Regions from separate parts of the Homo sapiens genome. Here regions 2, 3, 4, 5, 6 and 7 are each linked to region 1. Evidence: promoter capture Hi-C in 16 types of primary human blood cells and fetal thymus (Javierre and others, 2016). All regions are on one chromosome and are shown on one strand. Each heading gives the region's core, a stretch centred on a gene start or on the middle of the fragment in contact. The rest is flanking DNA. Distances are from core to core; before and after follow the strand shown.

Region 1 (3,291 bases), core at 250-2,749:
TGAATCTTCTTCATTCTTGATCCTCATGGTAACCTTGTAGGTACAATAAGGTTTACTCTCAATTTATTGATAAAATTGAGTGACAGGTTAAATTACTTGCAGAACAGACACGAGAACCCAAGTCTACCAAATCTTGGTCTAATACTTCTCCCCCATACTGTTATTGAAAAAAGCTGGCAAGGCAAGGTGGCTCATTCCTGTAATGCTAGCACTTTGGGAGGAGGAAGTGGGAAGATCACCTGATCCCAAGAGTTTGAGACCAGCCTGGAGAGCACAGTGAGATCCTCGTCTTTGCAAAAAATGAAAAAAAAAACCCAAAAAAACAAAAAAAAACAAGCAACCGGGCGTGGTGGAGCATACCTGTGGTCCCAGCTACTAAGGAGGCCGGGGTAGGAGGACTGCTTAAGTCCGGCAGGTCAAGGCTTCAGGGAGCTATGATTGTGCCACTGCACTCCAGCCTGGGTGACAGAGCGAGACCTCATCTCAAAAAAAAACCCACTAAACTAAAACTTCATTAAAGTTCCAATGTGTCTTCTATGATGAAAACATACTTTTAAAATTAAAAAAAAAATTTCAGTAAAGTGTATCCTAATCACTAAACCACAGATTGTAAAAGGTGGATGGGTCTAGAGAGATCATTTAACCCAAGTTCTTTTCTACAAATAGGGAAACTGCAAGAACTAGAATTAGAATCAAGGTTTTCTGATGTAATTTGGGGTAAAATAATTTTGAGGAGCTGGATGGATCTTATGAAATGATATTGTTTACAATTTTAGAGATAAAAATACTGAAGCCTGGTGGAATCAGCACAAACTCTTAAGAGACTGGGGCTCAAATTCCAGCTCTACCAGCTGTAAGTTTAGCAGCAAGTTACTTAACATCTCAAAGTCTCGGTAAAAGACTCTGTAAAAAGAAGGTGATGCCTCTTTCAAAGTAGTTCTTAGTATTAAATTTTGAAAAAAGTAGGTAAATCTTAACCTCCTATCACACACGTAGTCTAATGACTTCCTAGGATCCTCCAACCCCAAGGGGACCTCTTTCACAAAACCTCCCGGCTCCCCCCCAGTCTCCCTAGTCATCTTAGATGAGGAAGTCGAGCGCACCCCAGGGCTGATCGCACAGGAAGAGCACCTGGGCTCCAGACCCTAGTAACTAAACCCGTGGGCTTCGAGGTTTCTGCCGACCCTCTGTCAAAGGTTAGAAAGGCCCACACACTGTCCACTCTCCCGATACCATTTTACAGGTGGTGAAACTGAGGCCCAAAAGGGGACAGTAACTTACCGGAGGTCATTCGGCGGGTCTGGGACTAGGCGCTCACTAGAGGTGACGGTGGGGGCAGCTCCGCGGTCCCCCAGACTCAGACTCTCCAGCCCAGTCGTGCCCATCGAGCAGGGTCCGGCTGCAGCAACGAGCCCAGCGCCGCAACGCCCAGGGTGTGGGGCGGAGTAAGATGTGAAACCTCTTCAGCTCACGGCACCGGGCTGCAACCGAGGTCTGAATGTTGCGAAAGCGCCCCAGACGCCGCCGCTGCTTTCCGGCCGCCCCCTCGGCTACAGCCGCCATTTCCACGCTCCACCAATCAAATCCATTCTCGAGGAAGACGCACCGCCCCCACACGCCCCGACCAATCGCTCGCGCTCTGGTTGCGCTGGCGCCTTAGGGGCTCCAGTGCCACCATTGCTTTTGCTGCTTTTCTGGCTTTCCCTTTCGGACATGCGCGCTCGGAGCAAGGCGCCCTCGCACTCAGCTTACCGCGCATGTACGTTGCCAGGGGTAACGCAGGTAGCCAAAGTGGCTTGTGGAGTGGCGACCGTTAGTGAGGCGGTTGCTGAGACAGACGCTGAGGCGGGTAGGAGGAGCCCGAGCCGTAAGGGAAGCCGTGATGAGGGCCGTGTTGACGTGGAGAGATAAAGCCGAGCACTGGTGAGGAGCGGGGCGGTTCGCGAAGAGCAGGAGGTCGAGTCCTCGCGGGGAGTGCGCGAGCCGCTGCAGCGTGTTTGAGGGGGGCAGCGGGCTTGCTGCCTGGGCCGAGGGCACTGAACCCCGGCCTGGGAGACTGCAGGGTCGCCCTCCCGCCCCTTGGCGGTTGGAGAAACTCCCGAGGGTTGGAGAGCGGCAAAGGGAGGTGCCGCGCCTGAGGTGGTGGCGGGTGGAGGCGGCTCTTCCCTCACGGTCTGGCCCTGTCGCTGCCTTGGATTCATCTCACACCCACGAGACAGCACGAAGCTGCTCAAGCTTCACAGTTCTTGCCACATCCACATAGTACCCATACTCTTGTTTTCTTGACGTTTTTCTCTAAATTGTCTCATTTATTTTAATTATGATTTCACATTTTACAAGGAAACTTTATTACTCCATTTATGAAAACCAGTGTCACTTGCTCTAAATGTTAAGATAAAATCAGCGTCGCTTGCTCTAAGTGTAAAAGTAAAACTTAAAGTAGGGAGAAACAAAACTGAACAAGCTGTAGCTAGCTATTGTTGCTAGGGAGCCTTTAAACCTGAGATCTCGTTTCTCTAAAACTGGAGATGGGCAGGTATGATCAGAAAGGTGCTCAAAATGAGCACCAAACACAAGCTCTCCTAATTGGGAAGTCTGAAAAAGAACTGAAGGGGAATGACTTTGTCACCTTTTGATTCAGTTATTTAATGTCCTATTCCATTGTTATCGCCTAAATCTATAACATAGCAGTCTGTTTTGTCATATTCTTACTTATGGGATAGGTCTTGGCCTGACTTTGAAAATCATTCAGCATTGTTGTGAAGCCTCTGTTCTGGCCACTGGAGCAGGTTACTTGTCTTTGGTTCTGTCCCTTCTGAGATCTTTCTCTGTGTAAAGCATGCCGTCTCTCCTCATCTCACACGGAAATCCTGAACATCCTTCAAGGCTCACGTTGGAGACGGGTCCTCTCTTTTGTGTTCGGCACTAGTGGTAGCTGACACTATGTGCCAGGTGCTGGCTAAGCACTTCATATCCTTTATCTCGTTGTGTCTTCACCACTCTCTAAGGTAGGTACTATAATTTCCTCTATTTTATGTATGAGGAAACTGAAGCCCAGAGAGGGTGGATAATTTGCCAGCGTCACACAGTGAGGGGTGGAACCAGCTTTCAAGCTCAGGTCTTCCTCACTCCAACGTCAACGCTCTCAGCCACTACATTAATTTTTCCTTATGTTACAGACGTGGCAAACTCAAATGTCTGCAGGAGACAGGCAGGTAACATAAATGGGAGATGTTTATTTGCATCTTCAACACTAGGAATTGTATGTTTTCCCTAGGAATAGTCTTGTAT
Region 2 (3,291 bases), core at 304-2,803, 490 kb after region 1:
GATTTGTATATGATACTTTTCTCAAAGAACCAACTGTTAGCTCTGTTACTTCTCTCTATCATTATCTTTATTTTCTGTTTCATTCATTTACCTGTTTATCCTTCCATTTATGTTATTTGAGTTTATTCTCATTATATTTTCTAACATATGCTGGGTATTAGCTTCATTTTCATCTTTTCTGCTTTTCTAATGTAAATAAAGCTACAGATTGCTCTCGATGCTTTGTGTGGCATCTCACAATTTTTAATTTGCATACTTTTAATCATTTATTAGTATTATCTAATTTTCATTATGATTTATTAGATATTTGAGTTTAGAAAAATGCTTTTTTTTTTTTTTTTTTAAAGACAGAGTCTTGCTCTGTCACCCAGGCTGGAGTGCAGTGGTGTAATCTTGGCTCACTGCAACCTCCACTTCCCAGGTTCCAACCATCCTCCCACCTCAGCCTCCCAAGTAGCTAGGACTACAGGTGTGAACCACCACACCCAGCTAATTTTTTATAGAGACGAGGTTTCACCATGCTGCCTGGGGTGGTCTTGAACTCCTGAACTCAAAGGGGTCCGCCTGCTCAGTCTCCCAAAGTGCCAGGATTAAATGTGTGAGCCACCGCACCCAGCCAGCAGCATTAGCATCATTACTTCTTGACTCCTGATTTATTTCCTTACCCCAGGCTCCCTTCACTCTACTCCAGCCTGCTCTGCTACACACAAGAGTAGCTACTGAAAGCCAGAGCTCCTTGGGCTGATTCCTCAGGCCCTCCAAGAGCTTGGCCCCACATCCCTTCCGAGGGTCCCACAGCCCAGGTCTACATGTTTGCTTGCCACACCTGACTTCCATGTCTATCTCCTTTTTTATTATTATTATTTTTTGAGACAGAGTCTCACTCTGTCGCCCACACTGGAGCACAGTGGCACGATCTTGGCTCACTGCAACCTCCACTTCTTGGGTTCAAGTGATTCTCCTGCCTCAGCTTCCCAAGTAGCTGGGACTACAGGCGTCCACCACCACGCCCAGATAATTTTTGTATCTTTAGTAGAGATGGGGTTTCACCATGTTGGCCAGGCTGGTCTCAAACCTCTGACCTCAAATGATCTGCCGGCCTTGGCCTCCCAAAGTGCTGCGATTACAGGCATGAGCCACCACGCCTGGACAGTGTGGGTGTTTTTTGAATGGGATTAACATTTAAATCAGCAGACTTTGAGTGAAGCACATTGCCCACCACGATGTGAGTGAGCCTCACCAAATCAGTTGAAGGCTTGAGTGGCCTTAAAAGACCAGCCTATGCAACCCCTTCTCTAACAAGAGAGAATTCTCCAGCAGGTGGCCTTCAGACTTCACCTGCAACATTGGCTCCTTCTGGTTCTACAGAAGATGGCCTTTGGACTGGAAGGACACCATCAGCTCTCCTAGGTCTCCAGCCACCATAATTGCATGAACAAGTTTCTCACAATAAACCTCTTCCTCTAAATATTCATATCCTATTGATTCTGCTTCTCTAGAGAACCCTAATTCACTAGGTTTTTTTTTTAAGTTTTATATTCATTTTAGGTTTTTAAATATAGTCTTAGAATGTCCAGTCTGGGAACAGCCAAATTTCCAACTTAAAGTTTACTAGAGTACGGGTGGATCTCTTTTTCTCTGTCTCCATCATAAAGTCTCCCCTGCCCTCAATCTTTCTAAGGTAGTTTCTAACCCCTGGCATGGGGCGGGGAGGGGGCAAGGGAGGGAGGAGCTCTCAGCGAGCTGGAGATTTTTTACTTGAGTGATATGGGTCCAGGGTGGTTTTGTGCTGACCTATGTGTCAAGGTGATCCATCTTATAATCTCCCCGGCTGCTTTCATGGATTCTGGAGACATCCCCACTCCCAGCTGAGAGCCTCTCATCCTGCCTTTTGCTGTGGGGGACACACTCACCTCCCGCTGGTGGCTCTCTTCTCGGCTCCTATTTTTTCCCTTCCCACCGAGTTGGCATGAACATTGCTCCAGATCGTCCCCTGGGGCATGATCAGGCCAGCTCCTGCAGGGGCCCACATCTGATCTACAGAAAATCTTCACATGTTCTAGCTCTGATCACCTTGGAGATCATTAGGGGACTGAAGCTGCCTGCTCAACCGCCTCTCCGAGGCTCCTTTTTCTCCTGTCTTTCAGTTTGCTGAGGTGGGAGTCAGAGACAGGCCCAGCTCCTCCATCCTGCAAGGAGCCCAGATGCAGCTTTCCAATGGTCCTGCTTCAGTGCCCTCAACTGGCTCAGGTAGAGGCATCCTCAGCTCTGCCCCTCGGTGGGGTAGGGCTGGGGTGGGGAGATTGAAAGACCCGCTCTCCAAAGTCCTCCTCACTAATTCCTCTGATCTCCAACAACTAGATCATTATATAACCTCAATGCAGGTGAGATGTTTTAGGGTCTTACAAATGGCTTTTGTTGGCCAGGTGCGGTGGCTCACACCTGTAATCCCAGCACTTTGGGAAGCCAAGGCGGGCGGATCACGAGGTCAGGAGTTTAAGACCAACATGGTGAATCCCCATCTCTATTAAAAATACAAAAAAAAGAAAAAAAATTAGCCAGACGTGGTGGCACGCGCCTGTAATCTCAGCTACTTAGGAGGCTGAGGCAGGAGAATCACTTGAACCTGGAAGGCAGAGGTTGCAGTAAGCCGAGATCGCGCCATTGCACCCCAGCCTGGGTGACAGGGCGAGAGTCCGTCTAAAAATAAAACGACTGTTGTTTATTTCCTTTGAACATTTGCATCTTGGTCTGGGTGTCTTATCTATTTCACCTTGGTGACTTAGTAGTTCCAGTGTAACACCCTGTTATAAACACCAGCACATACACACACACATTTACGTGTGCAAAAAAATGGGGAACAGTTTGTGCCACTGAATTTGGCGGGGGGCTCTGTGTGTGTCTGGACAGGGAGCAGACTGGAGAGGTGGCTTGCGGGTAGAAGCTGCGGGCTCTGGACTCTCTTCTTTTGGTGCCCTCCTTTTCCCCACTCCCCCGAGCTCCCAGGCTGCTTTGCATAATGAAGAAAGAATTGGGAGGGCAATGGTAGGGGAGGGAGAACAGAAGTAAGGAGGGGAGTGCAGCATAGAAGATGGTGAAAGATGGCCTGACACTTTCAAACTATTTCCCTACCCTCGAATCCTGTTAAAATTCAACCAGGGGCCAGCTCCTCCCCTGCAGCAGATGCTGAGTCACACTATCTCATCCCTTCTGTGGGATGGGGGTTCTGCAAAGGGAGCGGACAGCTGGGTTTGTCTTGGCCACCACCGGACTCCTTCGGAGTGGGTGACT
Region 3 (3,291 bases), core at 450-2,949, 450 kb before region 1:
AGAAGATGGAGCAGTTCTAAACATACTATACACCCAACCAGTCGGCCTCCAAAATAGCTGAAGCAACCATCTGTAAGACTCTCCCCAGGGCCTGAAAGCTTAAGGAGATGAATAACTCCTCCCTTCTCAAGCCTAGTCCCAAGGCGTAAGGTCACTTACGTCAGCAGCGTGCACCAGCAAAATAGCAGAAGCAGGAGGAGAGCCGGCTGGAATACACCTACCCTGGCCGGAAGACATGAAGATGAGAAAGAGGCCATCCGGGTACAGCGTAGCAGTTACGCCAGACTAGGACACTTCCTGTTTACAGGAGACTATAAAACCTTTGCCCCGTCCTCACTTGGGGCTGACGCCATTTTAGGCCTCAGCCGGCCTGCACCAAGGCGTTCATTGAAACAGCATGTTGCTCCACACCGCCTCGTGTTGTCTGTTGGTGCGCTCTCGGGGTTCCAACCCATACAAGAAACTTACACCATCGACAGAATACCAGGAGAAGTTGAAATCATAATGGTGGGCTAGTTCAAGTAAGCAGATGAAAACAAAACAAAGCAAGGTCTATCAAGATGTGAAGTACTACTTGTCTCCTCCCCTCATATTGGGCTGGAACCATGTGACTTGGTTTGGCCAATAAAATGCTAGCAGGTGGGAGACACTCAAAGACTTGAGGAGTGTTTGTGGGGCTAGGCTTGCCCTCCTGTGTGTCCGTGTTTCTAGAACAAGAAGGGGTCTAGGATAGCCCACTGGTCCAGGAGGAAAAGGAGCAGCATGAAGCAGAGCTGAGCTGTTGCAGAACCCAGCCTAGACCAGCGCCCAGCACCTCCAGGAGAACCTCAGGTTCCTGTGTGCAGCCATGAGCTTGGGGGCTTGTTTGGGTTTGTTGCACCGCATTTTTGTGGCAATAGCTAATTGATACACCTTTACATTCAGAGATTGATTCAACAGATCAGAGAAAATGTATTTTTTGGCCGGGTGCGGTGGCTCATGCCTGTAATCCCAGCACTTTGGGAGGCTGAGGCAGGAGGATGACCTGAGGTCAGGGGTTCGAGACCATTCTGGCCAACATGGTGAAACCCAGTCTCTACTAAAAATACAAAAATTAGATGGGTGTGGTGGCGTGCACCTGTAATCCCAGCTACTTGGGAGGCTGAGGCACGAGAATTGCTTGAACCCGGAAGGCTGAGGTTGCAGTGAGCTGAGATCGCACCACTGCACTCCAGCCTGGTGACAGAGCAAGACTCCATCTCAATAAAAAAAGAATTATTATTTTTTTTTTTTTTGACAGAGTTTTGCTCTTGTTGCCCAGGCTGGAGTGCAATGGCGTGATCTCTGCTCACCACAACCTCCACCTCCGGGGTTCAAGAGACTCTCCTGCCTCAGACTCCCGGAAAATGTATTTTAAACAAGGTATTAGGTGATGCACAAGCGCTTATGAGAATCAATGCCTTAACCTCTCCATGGTTTTTTTTTCTTCTGTAAAAAGCAGACAGAACATCACCTGCTTTAGGGTTGTTGAGAGGATTAAGTATGTGAAGCTGATGCAGCCACAGTTGGGCCTCTCCTAAAATTGCTGTTTCTTTTCAACCTCTGCTCCTGGCTGGCACTGGCCAGCCCGCTTTGGGGTGGGGCAGGTGGAGAGAGGATGTGGGGTGTATGCGCCCTAAACTCCTGCAGAAAGTCATGCACCTCCTTTTTTCAGAGGGTGTTAAACTTCTGCTCTAGCACCTACCCATATTCACAGGGAAGGCCAGTGAGATGGTGAATTTGCAGGGGACCACGTGGGGCACGTCGGAGCTGAAAGTGCTGGCAGGCTCAGATGAGGACTCGATGCTGCTGCACGGGCGGTCAGAGTCAGACTCCTGGGCCCTGGCCTTGGCCTTCAGGTGTTCCTCCACGTCACACTCGCTCGTGGACTGGTAAAAGCTAGTGATGGAGGAGATGGGCTCTATGCTTGCGGGGTCCTCTTCCCACTCCCAGGCATGTAGCGACATGCTGCAGAGCGCACTGCTGGCCGCCGGCGCTCCTGGCAGGGAGAAAGTGAAGGCTGTCCCCGCCTGTATTCCAGGGCTGCTCCAGGAGGTAAGCCCGGCCTCCTGCAGAAGCACCCACCCTTCTCTTCCCTGCTTCCCCCGCCTGCTCCTAGATGAACGCCGGGGCTCCTTCACTGCCTGCCACACAGTCGGTACTCAATCGACTTAGAGAATGAATGGATGAAGGAACAACAGATAAGGGTGGCTGGCAGTAAGCACGACGACGAGCAACCCCGTTTCCTTCGCCTAACCAGGAGTCAGTCGCCGGGCTTCTGGAATGCCTGCCCCAGGTGAGCAGCTCCCGGGAGCCACCAGGCGGGAGAGGGGACGTCTGCTCAGGCAGGCCTGCTGCGCCTAAGCACAAGATGCGTTTGCTATTTGGGGAGAGGCAAACCAGGCCGGGGGCAGCACGTGCAGGAGCCTGGCGAGGTCGGGGAGGGCAAGCCCTGTCCCCAAGACAGAACATGAATGTGCACTGGGTGCTGGGCTCGGGGCATCAGCTCAGGCCCATGGAGGCGGAACGCCGGGCAAACGCCGAAGAGGGAACACGCATCGAGGCGAGGCGGGAAGAGTCCCGGGCTGCGGCGGCCGAGGTGGGGGCAGGGGTCGGGGTTCCCCTCCAGGTGCTGGCGGTACCTGCGAGCGGATGCGCTGGGCGGCAGCGGGGAGTTGGACCGCGGCGGCAACTCCCGTACCGGATCCACAGCCACCTGGGCGAAGAGACTCCAAGACTGAGAGGAGCGTCCGCCGGTGCAGGGAGGGCCGCAGGCCCAGCCACTCAGCTACGTTTGGCGGTTGCTAGGAGACGCGAGGGCGTGCGGCCTGGGGGCGGGGCTCCGCGGGGCGGGGCTTTCCCCCTCAGCCACTGCGCGCAGTTTGTCAAATGGCTACATCCAGGTTCAGAAACCAGCTGCCTTCATTCCTTCACTCATGCATTCACTCATTAAGGAGTTTCTACTCGGAACGTCAGCACCTACTATAAGCCTGGTCCTTGCCCGTACGATGGGAGGTAGGGGTTGATGGCTCCTTCCTCCCCCTCCATCAGCTCCCACCTCCCATTCTTTAATAAAAGCAAAGGAAGCTGTGGGCTCTGCAAACTCCAGACCTCCCCACGATCCCTCTCATTAGATTCTCTGCTTCTGTCGCCGATGTCCTTAAAAACCAGACCTCCCCACGATCCCTCTCATTAGATTCTCTGCTTCTGTCGCTGATGTCCTTAAAATAGCATGAGAATTCTTGTTAGTGATCATGAGCGCCAACTCAGAGA
Region 4 (3,291 bases), core at 465-2,964, 430 kb after region 1:
AATGTTTTGCCCTCCATATCCTGTTTTTGAATGCAGTTGGTTGTGCTGGTTGGAGATGAGGCGCCATGATGCAACCAAAAGGTGACACAGGGAGGCTGAAAAGCCAACATAATGAGGAAAATAAAGGTGAGGGGAAAAATGTGGGTCCTAAATATTGCTGAGCTACCAAACTAGTGCTGAATTACCTATCTCGTTGCTTCTGTTTATATAAGACAATAAAATATTTTTACAGCTTAAGTCACTATTAGATTTCCTGGGGTTTTTTAAATTATTACTTCCATTATTTACAATTGAATGTATCCTAATGATATATATTTTGTCTACGCATGGAATTTTTTTTTTTTTTTTTGAGATCCGGAGTCTTGCTCTGTTGCCCAGGCAGGAGTGCAGTGGCACAATCTCGGCTCACTGCAACCTCCACTTCCCGGGTTCAAGCCTCCCGAGCAGCTGGGATTACAGGCACCCCCCACCACGCTTGGCTAGTTTTTGTATTTTTAGTAGAGATGGGGTTTTGCCATGTTGGCCAGGCTGGTCTCAAACTCCTGATCTCAGGTGATCCATCCACCTCAGTCTCCCAAAGTGCTGGGATAACAGGCATGAGCCACCGCGCCCAGCCTATCCTTGGAAATTAATGGAGCTTTAATTCTAGTGGAAATGACACAGATTGGGGATAAGACTTGTTAGTGGTCTCAAGACTAACACTGGTTGTCTTAATGCAGTGTGGACATACGAAAAACCCAAAAGAAAAAAAATCACAGGAAATACATAACATGAAACACTATGCAGCTGAAAAAAAAAAAAAACGGACACAAGTTGGCCAGGTGTGGTGACTCACACTCATAATCCCAGCACTTTGGGAGGTGGAAATGGGAGGATTGCTTAAGGCCAGGAGTCTGAGATCAACCTGGGCAACATAGCAAGACCCTGTCTCGAAAAATTTTTTAAACTACCCAGGCGTGGTGGTGCACGCCTCTAGTCCCAGCTAGTCGGGAGGATAAGGCAAGAGGATCCCTTGAGCCCAGGAGGTCAAGGCTGCAGTTAGCTACGATCACACGCACCACTACACACCAGCATAGGTGACAGAGTGCCACCATGTCTCTAAAAAATAAAAATAATAAGTTTAAAAATACTGTTTTTTAATGACATGGGCTATAAGTAGCATACGGTTAATCCCTGGTCCAAAATGCTTGGAACCAGAAGTGTTTTAGATTTCAGATTTTTTCACATTTTGAAATATTTGCATTATACCTACCAGGCAAGCATCCCAAATCCAAGCAGCATTTCTTTGAGTGTTATGTTGGTACCCAAAAGATTTCAGATTTTGGATTTTCAAATTTGGGATGCTCAAACTATATTGTATGAGGGAAAAAAGCAAGGTATAGAACTGTTTGAACAGTAGACCTCTATTTGAGTTTTTTAAAGGTAATATAAATATATATGTACATATATACACAAATATGTACATAAAATATCTGGAAGGAGACACAAAAAGAGGTAAAAATGGTTGTTACTAAGGAGGAGAAGTAAGGACCAGGAATCAGGGATTAAAGTGAGACTTTCATTTCTATGGTTTCAACATCTGCATATTCCTATTCAAAATGAGTTTGAAATAAAAATGTTAAAAACTTCTTTTAGACTCATATTACACATAAGAGAATTCTCAAAGTGACTCAAAGCTGTTATTTCTACAAAGTACCTAAAAATTATTGTTTGCCTACCAGCACCTGGCATAATGCCTTGCCTATAATAGATTCTCAAATGTCTTCTGACTCAATTTACTATGGAATCAATTCCACAAGCTGCCACTTACGGCATCTAAGAATCTAAAAAATAGCGGCTAGAACTGAGCGCAGTGGTTCACACCTGTAATCCCAGCACTTTGAGAGGCTGAGGTGGGAGGACTGCTTAAGCCCAGGAGTTCAAGATCAGCGTTGTCAACATAGCAACACCCTATCTCTGCAAAAAACAAATTAAATAAATAAAACATACAGGGCAGGTGCAGTGGCTCATGTCCATAATCCCAACACTTTGCAAGGCTGAGGTGGAATGACTGCTTGAGACTAGGAGTTCAAGACCAGCCTGGGCAACATAGCAAGACCCCATCTCTACAAAAAATACAAAAATTAGCTGGGTATGGTGGCGCACACCTGTAGTCCTAGCTACTTGGGAGGGTGAGGTGGGAGGATGGCTTGAGCCCAGCAGTTTGAAGTTGCAGTGAGCTATGATTGCACCACTGCACTCCAGCTGAGCAAGAGCAAGACCCTATCTCTAAAAAAATAAATAAAATAAAATGAAAAGTAGAAAATAAACTTCATATATTTGAACCTTTCTCTTCATAATCAAAGTCTGTCAGATAATTACTTAACTCTGTTTTCCTTATTCTCCACAATATTTGAGTACTGTCTTAAGTTGTCGGAAAGGAAAATCAGCTCATAACAACCTTCTCTGGGTTTTCCATATGCCCACACTGCATTAAGATGACCAATACCAGAAGCAGGCATGGTGGCACATCTGTAGTCGCAGCTACTCAGGATCTAAGGTAGGCGGATCACTTGAGCCCAGTAGTTCATCTAGCCTGAGCAATACAGCAAGATTCCATTGCTATTTAAAAAAAAAAAAAATGGCCAGGTGCGGTGGCTCACACCTGTAATCCCAGCACTGTGGGAGGCTGAGGCAGGTGATCACCTAAGGTCAGGAGTTCGAAACCAGCCTGGCCAACATGGCGAAACCCTGTCTCTACTAAAAATACGAAAAAGAATTAGCTGGGTGAGGTAGCCGGCGCCTGTAATCCCAGCTACTTGGCAGCTGAGGCAGGAGAATCGCTTGAACCCTGGAGGCAGAGGTTGCAGTCAGCCAAGATCGCACCACTGCACTTCAGCCTAGGGGACAGAGGAGGACTCCATCTCAAAAAAAAAAAAAAAAAAAAAAAAAACAACACAAACACACCCAAAAAAGATTACTCATACCAGTGTGAGACCACTAACAAGTCTTGGCCCCAATCTGTTATTTCATTTCCACTAAAACATAAACTCCATTAGGGTAGAAACTTTTATCCACTGTATCTCCAACACCTACAACAGGGCCAACAAATATGAAAGTAAGCAATACATATTTTTTTTAATAAACAAATGAAGAAAAAGAGGTCTTCCATAAAAGCCAAGAATAAGTTATGTCTAACCACACCCACCCACTTTGGTTATTTACATAAGCTCATCTGGCTGAGTATGCTACATAGACTGGATACTTTTACCAAAGAATAATAAAATAGGGCCGGTGCCGTGGCTCACGCCC
Region 5 (3,291 bases), core at 426-2,925, 420 kb before region 1:
CAAGCCCCACAGACCAGGAGCTTCAACAACAGGCATTTGTCTCCCACAGCTGTGGAGGCTGACCAGAGTGCGGTGTCGCAGCGTTGGCTTCTCCTGCGGCCTCTCTCCTGGGCTGGCAGCCAGGGCCGCCTTCTCCCTGTATCCTCGCGTGGTCTTCCTTCTGTGTGTATTTCTGTCCTAATCCCCTCTTCTTAGAAGGACACCAGTCAGACTGGATTAGGGCCCACCCTAAAGACCTCATTTTAACTTGATTACCTCATTAAAGGTCCCATCGCCAAATAAGATCACATTATGAGGAGCTCTGGGGGTCTGGACATCAACATATGAATTGGGGAGACACAACCAGCCCATCACAGGAGACTTCTCTGAGATGTGACCCTGGAATTGAGGCCTGAGTGGCAAGGTGGGGCCATGACTTGTGTGATCCAGGGCGGAGGTGACTCCCATAGCAAAATCACAGGGCTGGGCACAAGCTTGGCTTGTCTGCACTGCCTGCACGGGGACGAGCAGGTTGGAGCCAGCCTGGATGCCGAGGGGCCAGTGAGGAGGGGCCAGTGAGGAGGAGCAGGTGAAGAGCCCTCCTCACCTGTACACACGGAGTCCTGCTAAGTCTCAGCTCCAAGTGGCTCAGACCCACCTGCTACTCTCCAGTCGCACCCACCACCCAGCCCAGCCCCAGCACCACTCCTGGACAGCTGTCCTAGCCTCCTGACTGGTGTCCCAGCTCCATCAGAACCACGGACCACACAGCATCAGGTTAATCTTTTCAACACCCAGATCCCACCTCGGGCTCGCCCACTCACAACTCTCCTGTGACCTCCTCTGGTGACCATCATGACTGTGAGTGACCAGGCCCTTTCCCATCCTCTCCTGCAGCCACACTGACCCTCCAGGGCTCCCCTTCTCAGGCCCTTTGGGCATACGGCTCCCTCCACCATCCCCAAGCCTACTCCTGACCAATCCACATTCACCCTTCAGGTCTTGCCAGACCCCAACTCTTTAGGGAGGCCCCACCTCCATCTACAGCCTCTTCCTAACGTCTTTCACGGCCCCTGGACTTTTCTGTCCTTCATGTATTTTTGTGATGACTTCATTGAGGTCTGCTCCTTCGGGGGGGGAGGTTGCGGGGTAAGCTCTGTGAGGTCAGGGGCCATGCCATTGCTAAGGACAGTGGCTGGCTCAATACTTCATCCTTCGGTGAATTAAAGAACCAAGTCAGCAGCTTGGGCTGGCAGGGCCTTAGAAGTCACCCAGCCCAGGCTGACACCCTGCACGGCGCCCCCGAGAGCTGAGTGTCCGTGTCTGCTCGCACACTCCTGTTGCACCCTTCCCACCGCCATCCCCTGCTCAGTAAAGTTGGGGGGGTTCCCGAATTCAGGTAGGGACCAGAGAGGAGTCACAGAGGACCCCTGAGGACTGTCCCCCCACCCCTTGTGATTTATTTTCCGCCCTTCCTCTGCTGCATCCCGCCCCCCTACCCCAAGCTGTTCTTCCTGCTGTTGTTCTCTTGTTTTCACATGTTGCTCTCTGTTTCCTGTAAGGCTGCTTCACTCAGGAAACGCCATGCAGCAAAGGAAGCCGCTGTGTGCGAACCTCCAGGACCTCCCAGAGTAGGTGCTGCAGCGTGGCCGTGGCCTGATGGCCCAAAGTAGCCTGGCTGGGTTCTGAGGGACCTGTCAGCTCTGCAGCTTCCTGAGACTTGCTGAGTCACTGAGCGGCTCAGAGCATAGGAAGCAGAGAGAAAAAGACAGCAGTGACATTTTTCATCTATTCCAGAATAAACTGAGCCCAGGCGGTGTAATGGGCTTTTGATGCGTCCCCCTGGCTTTGATGTGATGCCTTGACCGCTCCCTTGGTTACAGCAAGTTAACCGGTCAAACACTAAGCTACAGTTGCTGTACAGGTATTCTGCATATGGATTAAAGTCTGTCATCAGTTGACTTTAGGTAAGGGACATTATCCTGGCTGGTCTGGGTGGGCTTCAAGAGCCAAACAGGCTTCTGTGTGAAAGAGAAGTTCCACCTGTGGACAGAAGGGTGTGGAATCCATCTACAGCCAGGCCTACAAGCTGTAGCTCTTTCTGAAGGACTTTATGACAAGGAAGTGGGCTGTGTGATTGTGGGGGCTGGCTAAGCAAGCCTGAAGTCCACAAAAGGGAAGCTGGCAGGCAGGTGGAGCTCATGGGCACGCCCGTGTCTAGAGCCTCTGGGGAAGCCCATAAGCCGTGCCCGTGAGCTCCACCTGCCTGCCAGCTTCCCTTCTGTGGATTCCAGACTCATTTAGCCAGCCCCCGTGATCACACAGGCCACCTGCTTGTCATAAAGCCCTGGAGACAGAGCTACAGCTGCAGGCATGGCTGTAGATGGATTCCACACACTGGCCCCACTTCTCTGGTCAAACCCTGACTCGTACAGGGCCTGAGGCAGGAGGGGGCGGAACTGATTAAGGAACAAAAGCTAACATTTTTGAGCACTCACTGGGTGTTAGGCACTGCACTAAGGACTTTATCTGTACAACCTTATTGCACTCCCAAGCAGTGCTGTGAGTGGTTTATCAGTGATGATGCTTTATGCTGCAAGAACATAAAACCCAACTCAGAATGGCTTAAACCACAAGGACATTTATTATCTCATGTGAGAAGTCCAGGGGAGAGCAGTTCCTTGGCAGTTCAGTAAAGTTTTCAAGGACCTGATTCATCTTCCACTCTGTTTTCCTCAGCTTGTCATTTTGGCCTGTCAGCAAGGACCCCTCATGGTTGCAAGAGAGCTGCCATGGCCTCAGGCATCACTGCCATATCCACGGGTCCTCCTGGCAGACTTCCCCTCACCTCTCTTTGGCCAGAATTGCATCACATGCCTGTTTCTAAACCAATCTGAAGGAAGCTTCATGATTGAGGCTTCGTGAAGGCGGCTTCATGATTGGCTCAGGCCAGTCAAGTCTCTCTGGGAGCACAAGGCCACAGTCGGGGTTGAGCTGACAGCAGATGGGGTGTGGTTGTTTGGATGGCTGAATTTGGTTTCTATCACAACCATAGCCGATCACCACACTCTTAGTGACTTGAAACAACACCCACCTGTGACCTCATAATTCCGTAGGCCGGAAGTCCAGGCGGGCGTGGCGGGCTTCTCTGCACAAGCTCGCACAAGGCCGAAAGCAAGGCACCCTTGGCCGGGTCTGGACCCCCTGGGAAAGCCCGTTCCAGTGTTGGCAGAATCCAGCTCCTTTTGGCCGTGGGACCGAGGCCCTATTTCCTTGCCGGCTGTCAGCTGGGGTTGCTCTCTGCATTCCTTC
Region 6 (3,291 bases), core at 349-2,848, 400 kb after region 1:
TCATACGTACAAAATAAAGGCTTTCCTCCAGACAAGCAAAAATAGAGAATTCACTGCCAGGAGACCCATCCTATAAGAAATATTAACAGAAGTCCTTCAGGTAGAAAAATATATAAAAGTGAGAAGCTTGAATCTACAAAATGAAGAATAAATGAAGGTAAAGTATAATTTTTTTATTTTTCATTGCTCTAAAAGATAATTGCTTAAAGCAGTAACAATGTATTGGATAAGTACCCCACAGGTAAAAGTAAAACGCTTAACAACAATGGCAAAAGGGAAAAGAGGGAAGAACTGGGAACACACTATAACCATACTTTAACTAAATGCGAAGTGGCAAAACACCTGAAAAACTCAGGTTATTTTAAAATGTATAATGTAAACAAAAAAGCAACCACTAAAAACCTTTTTAAAGAAATCTAAGTGATAAGTCAATAAAGTAAAATGGAATTAAAAAAAAAATCACACCAAAGAAGGCAGTAGGAAAAAAACCACACAGGCGCATGCCTATAGTCCCAGCTACTCAGGAGGCTGAGGCAGCAGAATTATTTCAGTTCAGAAGTTTAAGACCAGCCTAGGCAACACGGCAAGACCTCTTCTCTACAAAAAAATAGAAAAATTAGCTAGGCATGGTGGCACACACCTATAGTCCCAGCTACTCAAGAGGTAGGAGGATCGCTTGAGCCCAAGAGTTTGAGACCAGCCTGGGCAACATAGTGAGACCCCATATCTACGAAAAATTTAAAAATTCACCAGGCATGGTGGTGTGCACCTGTAGTACCAGCTACTGGGGAGACCGAGGTGAGAGAATCACTTGAGCCCAGGAGGTCCAGGCTACAGTGAACCATAATTATGCCACTGTACTCCAGCCTGGGTGAGAGAGAGACCTTGTCTCAAAAAATAAAAAAAGAAACAAACAACAAATGCAACAAATAGAGAAGAGCTAGCAAGATGGTAGGTTTTCATCTAATTATACTAATAATCACTTTAAATGTAAATAGTCTTACCAGTTAAAAAACAGATTGTCAGACTGGGGGAGAAAAAAAAAAGCAAGACCAGGCCGGGTGTAATGGCTCACACCTGTAATCCCAGCACTTTGGGAGGCTGAGGCAGAAGGATCGCTTGAGCCCAGGAGCCCAAGACTACCCTGGGCAACATGGTGAAACCCTTTCTCTACAAAAATACAAAATATAGCTGGGCATGGTGGCATATGCCTGTAAGTCCAGCTACTTAGGACATTGAGGTGGGAGGATTGATTGAACCCAGGAGGTCAAGGCTGCAATGAGCCATGATCATGCTACTGTACTCCAACCAGGGTGACAGAGTGAGAACCTGTCTCAAAAAAAAAAAAAAAAAAGCAAGATCAAGCTATATTCGGTCCACAAGAAGCCTGCTAAGCAAAGATTTAAAGAGGAAAAAAATAAAACAATGGAGAAAAATATACCATACAAACACTAATTAATCAAAAGAAAGCTACTGTAGCCAAATGAATTGCAGACAAAGTAGATTTCAGAACAAGAAAGATTGTCAAGGATAAAGAGGAGTGATCTGGTTTGGCTCTGTGTCCCTACCCAAATCTCATCTTGAATTGTAATCCACACATGTCAAGGGAGGGACTTGGTGGGAGGCGACTGGATCACGGGGGTGGTTTCCCCCTGTTCTTGTGATAATGAGTTCTCATGAAATCTGATTGTTTAAAAGTATGTGACAGTTCCCCACCCCACTCCTGCTGCCATGTAAGACATGCCTTTCTTCCCCTTCACCTTCTGCGATGATTTTAAGTTTCCTGAGGCCTTCCCAGCCATGTGGGGCTGAGAGTCAAATTAAACCTCTTTTCTTTATAAACTACCCAGTCTCAGGTAGTTTTTTATAGCAGTGTGAAAATGGACTAACCCAGAAAATTGGTACCAGGAATGGGGTACTACTATAGATACCAGAAAATGTGGAGTGACTTTGGAACTGGGTAACAGACAGAGGCTGGAAAAGTTTGGAGGGCTCAGAAGAAGGCAGGAAGATGTGGGAAAGTTTGGAACTTCCTAGAGACTTGTTAGAAGATTTTTACCAAAGTGCTGATTGTGATATGGACAATGAATCCAGGCTGAAGTGGCCCAAGATGGAGATGAGAAACTTATTGTGAACTGGAGCAAAGGTCACTCTTGCTATGCCTTAGCAAACAGACTGGTGGCATTTTGTCCCTGCCCTAGAGATCTGCGGAACTTTGAACTTGAAAGACATGATTTAGAGTATCTGGCAGGAGAAATTTCTAAGCAGCAAAGCATTCAAGATGTGACCTGGCTTTTTCTGAAAGCGTACTGTCAGCCGGGGACAGTGGCTCATGCCTGTAATCCCGGCACTTTGGGAGGCCAAGGCAGGTGGATCACCTGACGTCAGAAGTTCGAGACCAATCTGGCCAATATGGTGAAACTCCGTTTCCACTAAAAATACAAAAATTAGCTGGGCATGGTGGCATACACCTGTAGTCCCAGCTTGGGAGGCTGAGGCAGGAGAATCACTTGAACTGGGAGGCAGAGGTTGCAGTGAGCCAAGATCGTGTCATTGCACTCCAGCCTGGGCAACAGAGTGAGACTCCCTCTCAAAATAATAATAATAATAATGAAAATGTTCATTGTATGTCATATGTGTTCACAAAGAGATAGTCTGAAATTGGAACTTATGTTTAAAAGGGAAGCAGAGCATAAAAGTTTGGAAAATTTGCAGCCTTACCATGTAGTAGAAAAGAAAAACCCATTTTCTGGGGGAGAAATTCAAGCTGCTGTTCTTGTGATAGTGAGTTCTCACAAGATCTGATGGTTTTACAGTGTGTGGCAGTTCTGCCCCCACTCCTGCCACCATGTAAGACGTGACTTACTTTCCCTTCTGCCATGATTATAAGTTTCCTGAGGCCTCCCCAGCCATGCGGCACTGTGAGTCAATTAAACCTCTTTTCTTTATAGATTACCCAGTCTCAGGTAGTTCTTTATAGCATTGTGAAAACAAACTAATACAAGGGGTATTATAATAGGGTCAGTTCCTAAGAAGACATAACAATTCTAAATGTGTATGTACCTTAAAACAAAGCTTCAAAATACATGAGGCAAAACTGATAGGTATGACAGAAAATAAAGACAAATTACAATTATAGTAGACTTTTATTAACAGTTAACCCTTAGTAATTGATAAACCAAGTAAGCAGATTGGCCAGGCATAGTGGCTCACCGTGGTAATCTCAGCACTTTAGGAGGCTGGGGTGGGCAGATCACTTGAGGCTAGGAGTTCAAGACCAGCCTGGCCTAC
Region 7 (3,291 bases), core at 392-2,891, 370 kb after region 1:
GGATTTCACAAAACAAATACCCGACCTCGCCCCAAAAAAAGAAAAGGTAGAGACACTAAGGTTATTGTTTTTAAGGTGAGATAATTTTAAGCTTAAAAAGATGAGGCATATTTAAGACTTAAATCTAAAATGAAAAACTATAAAAACCTTTGAAGATAACCTAGGAAATACCATCTGGACATAGGACCTGGCAAAGACTTCATAACAAAGATGCCAAAAGCGATTGCAACAAAACCAAAAATAAACAAATGGGACCCAATGAAACTAAAGAGCTTCTGCACAACAGAAGAAACTATCAAAGAGTAAACAGCCTACAGAAGGGGAGAAAATACTTGAAAATACTTGCAAACTATACATCAGATAAAGGTCTAATATTCAGAATCTATAAGGAACTTAAATCAGACAACCCTCATTAAAAAGTGGGCAAACGACATGAACGAACACTTTTCAAAAGATAACATGCATGCAGCAACAGGCTTATGAAAAAATACTCAACATCACTAATCATTAGAGAAATGCAAATCTAAACCACAATAAGATACCATCTCACACCAGTCAGAATGTCTATTATTAAAAAGTCAAAAAATAACAGATGCTGGTGAGGTTGTGGAGAAAAGAGAACACTTACACACTGCCAGTAGGAATGTAAATTAGTCCAGCCATTATGGAAAGCAGTCTGGCGATTTCTCAAATAACTTAAAACAGAATTACCATTTAACCCAGCAATCCTATTATGTATTTTCCCAAAGGAATATAAATAATTATTCCACAAAGACACATGCACATGTATGTTCACTGCAGCACTATTCACAATAGCAAAGACATGGAATCATCCTAAATGCCCATCAATGGTAGACTGGATAAAGAAAATGTGGTACATGTACACCACAGAATACTACACAGCAATAAAAAAATAATGAGATCATGTCCTTACGGAGCTGGAGGCCATTATCCTACACAAACTAACACAGGAACAGAAAACCATATACCTCATGTTCTCACTTAACAAGAGGGAGTTAAACATTTAGTATGGACACAAAGAAGGGAACAACAGACACCAGGGCCTACTTGAGGGTGGAGAGTGGGAGGAGGGTGAGGATCGAAAAACTACCTATTGGGTACTATGCTTATTACCTGGGTAATGAAATAATTTGTACAACAAACCCCCGCAACATGCAGTTTACCTATTTAACAAACCTACCCATGCACTCCTGAACCTAAAATAAAAGTTAAAAAAAAAAAAGATGAAGCTATTCCATTTCTACTGAAGAAGAGATTATTCTTAAGGAAATAGTACTTATATATGTTAAAGGAAATTTAACAATTTGAAAATGTATTTACTAAGTCATCTGTGATAATAAACACTTTAATTGTTCATCCATTCTAAACTTGTCCTTAAGTTCTTTTTCCTTATTTTTTTTTTTTGTATAATAAAGCAGGGTAAGTGATAAAAGTCCACTGTTGGAATAACTATTTATACATTTATTCTCCCAAAGAGTTGAGTTATAGGCTTGCATTTCCTATGTGGAAATGGCTTGACAATCAGAAACCATGAAATTTCTAAAGACATTAGGAGAAGACCTGAGCGTAAGGTTTAGATAAGATGCCAGACAATTTCCCAGTGTACTCCTGAACCAGATCTTCACTCACAGGCTAATTTTCCTGCAGTGTTTTAATTTTAAGTATTCATCCTGTGAATTCCTATTTAAAGTGGCAGAATCTTTGTTTCTAATCTTTTCTTTGTGATCTAACATAAGTTGCCATCTCTTTAAAATAACTTGTTATGTTTGTTGTAAGCCTCATGGTAACCAAAATACAAAAACCTATAACAGATTCACTAAAAATAAAAAGCAATGAATTAACATACTACCAGAGAAAATCACTTAACCACAAAGACAATAGTAAAAAAGGGATGAAAAGAGGAGTTACAAAACAACCAGAATATGCAATAAAATGGCAGTATTAAGCCCTTACTTATCAAAAATAACACTGAATGTAAATGGACTCAATTCTCCAATTAAAAGGCATAAAGTGGCTGAATGGACAAAGAAATAAGACCCAACTATATGCTGCCTACAAGGAACCCACTTCTCCTACAAAGATACACATAGACTGAAAGTGAAGGGGTGGGGAAAATATAGTCTATGCAACTGGAAAACAAAAAAGAGTAGAAGTAGCTATACTTACATCATATAAAATAGATTACAAATCGAAGACTATAGGAAGAGACAAAGTAGGTCACTATATAAAGATAAACTGGTTAATTCAGGAAGCCGATGTAACAATTATAAGTATCTATGTACCCAACATCAGAGCTCCCAAGTACATGAGGCAAACATTAGTAGATCTAAAGGGAGAGATAGACTGATAGACTGTAATACAATACTAGTAGAGAAAGTCAGCACCTCATTCTCAATAATGGACAGATCATCCAGACAGAAAATCAACAGAGACACAAAAGTTAAAGTAGACACCATACTTAATAGACCTGACATTTATAGAACACTTCACCCAATTGCTGCAGAATACTCATTCTTTTCATCACCACAAGGGAACATTCTCCAGAAGAGACCATATCTTAAACAAATCTCAACGATTAAAAAAAAATAAATCATATTAACTTTTCTGACCACAATGGAATAAAGCTAGAAATAAGTAACATTCACAGCAACAGGAAAAACTCTTAAATTTATATGGAACCACAGAAGACACTGAATAGCCAAAGCAATCCTGAGCAAAAAGAACAAAATGGGAGGTATCACACTACCTGACTTCAAAACATACTATAAAGCAATAGTAAACATATTAGCACAGTACTGGCATAAAAACACACAGACCAATGGAACAGAATGGAAAACCCAGATATAAATCAACACATTTATAGCCAACCCATTTTCAACAAAGGCACCAAGAACATACAATGGGGTAAGAACAGTCTCTTTAATAAATGGTGCTGGGGAAAATGGACAACCACCTGCAGAATGGAACTACACCCCTATCTCTGAACATATACAAAAATCAAATCAAAAGGGATTAACAACTTAAATCTAAGACTGGAAACTATGAAACTACTAGAAGAAATCATTGGGGAAATGCTACAGGACATTGGTCTGGACAAGGATTTTCAGTGTAAGACCTCAAAAGCACAGGCAACCAAAGCAAAAACAGACAAATGGGATCACATCATGCTAAAAAGCTTCTGCACAGCAAAGGAAACAATCAACAAAGTGAAAAGACAATCCACAGAATGGGAGAAAATATTTACAAACTATCCATCTGACAAGGGATTAA

Evidence for each region. The method cuts DNA at HindIII sites, captures the fragments that hold promoters and counts their contacts. A CHiCAGO score of 5 or more calls a contact.
Region 2: a fragment that was not itself captured here is called in contact with the fragment with the promoter of MBD4 in region 1 in 4 of 17 cell types (M2 macrophages, neutrophils, M0 macrophages and 1 more); the score reaches 9.6 in M2 macrophages.
Region 3: a fragment that was not itself captured here is called in contact with the fragment with the promoter of MBD4 in region 1 in 1 of 17 cell types (neutrophils); the score reaches 5.4 in neutrophils.
Region 4: a contact is called between a fragment that was not itself captured here and the fragment with the promoter of MBD4 in region 1, in 2 of 17 cell types (M2 macrophages and M0 macrophages). The highest score is 7.4, in M2 macrophages.
Region 5: a fragment that was not itself captured here is called in contact with the fragment with the promoter of MBD4 in region 1 in 1 of 17 cell types (total B cells); the score reaches 5.3 in total B cells.
Region 6: a fragment that was not itself captured here is called in contact with the fragment with the promoter of MBD4 in region 1 in 5 of 17 cell types (M2 macrophages, M0 macrophages, M1 macrophages and 2 more); the score reaches 15.3 in M2 macrophages.
Region 7: a fragment that was not itself captured here is called in contact with the fragment with the promoter of MBD4 in region 1 in 1 of 17 cell types (M0 macrophages); the score reaches 6.6 in M0 macrophages.

What each region holds. Positions count from the first base shown.
Region 1 is chr3:129,438,449-129,441,739 of GRCh38, forward strand. MBD4 (methyl-CpG binding domain 4, DNA glycosylase) reads right to left here and starts at 1,500. Exons shown (of 8, transcript NM_001276270.2): 1 at 1,282-1,500. The coding sequence starts at 1,385. IFT122 (intraflagellar transport 122) reads left to right here and starts at 1,776. Exons shown (of 30, transcript NM_052989.3): 1 at 1,776-1,923. The coding sequence starts at 1,883. RefSeq lists enhancers at 1,330-1,409, 1,500-1,639, 1,840-2,049, 2,200-2,249, 2,280-2,329 and 1 more. The HindIII fragment of the contact is 2,558 bases long and covers 1-2,233 here.
Region 2 is chr3:129,924,040-129,927,330 of GRCh38, forward strand. No RefSeq gene overlaps it. Among named protein-coding and RNA genes, the nearest start is that of TMCC1-DT, 32 kb to the left of the region's middle. The HindIII fragment of the contact is 4,695 bases long and covers 1-3,291 here.
Region 3 is chr3:128,991,320-128,994,610 of GRCh38, forward strand. It overlaps CFAP92 (cilia and flagella associated protein 92 (putative)), which reads right to left and starts at 2,757. Exons shown (of 16, transcript NM_001394090.1): 1 at 2,661-2,757; 2 at 1,724-2,017. The coding sequence starts at 1,985. RefSeq lists an enhancer at 1,425-2,186 and a silencer at 2,763-2,972. The HindIII fragment of the contact is 3,206 bases long and covers 97-3,291 here.
Region 4 is chr3:129,872,585-129,875,875 of GRCh38, forward strand. All of the region lies in intron 2 of TMCC1 (transmembrane and coiled-coil domain family 1), which reads right to left. Among named protein-coding and RNA genes, the nearest start is that of TMCC1, 19 kb to the right of the region's middle. The HindIII fragment of the contact is 9,223 bases long and covers 1-3,291 here.
Region 5 is chr3:129,014,310-129,017,600 of GRCh38, forward strand. The region is part of intron 2 of EFCC1 (EF-hand and coiled-coil domain containing 1); the gene reads left to right. It also overlaps a transcript of CFAP92 not described here. Among named protein-coding and RNA genes, the nearest start is that of EFCC1, 15 kb to the left of the region's middle. RefSeq lists enhancers at 1,617-2,124, 1,838-1,947, 1,968-2,017, 2,695-3,196 and a silencer at 2,798-2,957. The HindIII fragment of the contact is 2,409 bases long and covers 472-2,880 here.
Region 6 is chr3:129,838,991-129,842,281 of GRCh38, forward strand. The region is part of intron 2 of TMCC1 (transmembrane and coiled-coil domain family 1); the gene reads right to left. Among named protein-coding and RNA genes, the nearest start is that of TMCC1, 53 kb to the right of the region's middle. The HindIII fragment of the contact is 2,949 bases long and covers 125-3,073 here.
Region 7 is chr3:129,812,573-129,815,863 of GRCh38, forward strand. All of the region lies in intron 4 of TMCC1 (transmembrane and coiled-coil domain family 1), which reads right to left. Among named protein-coding and RNA genes, the nearest start is that of TMCC1, 79 kb to the right of the region's middle. The HindIII fragment of the contact is 3,105 bases long and covers 90-3,194 here.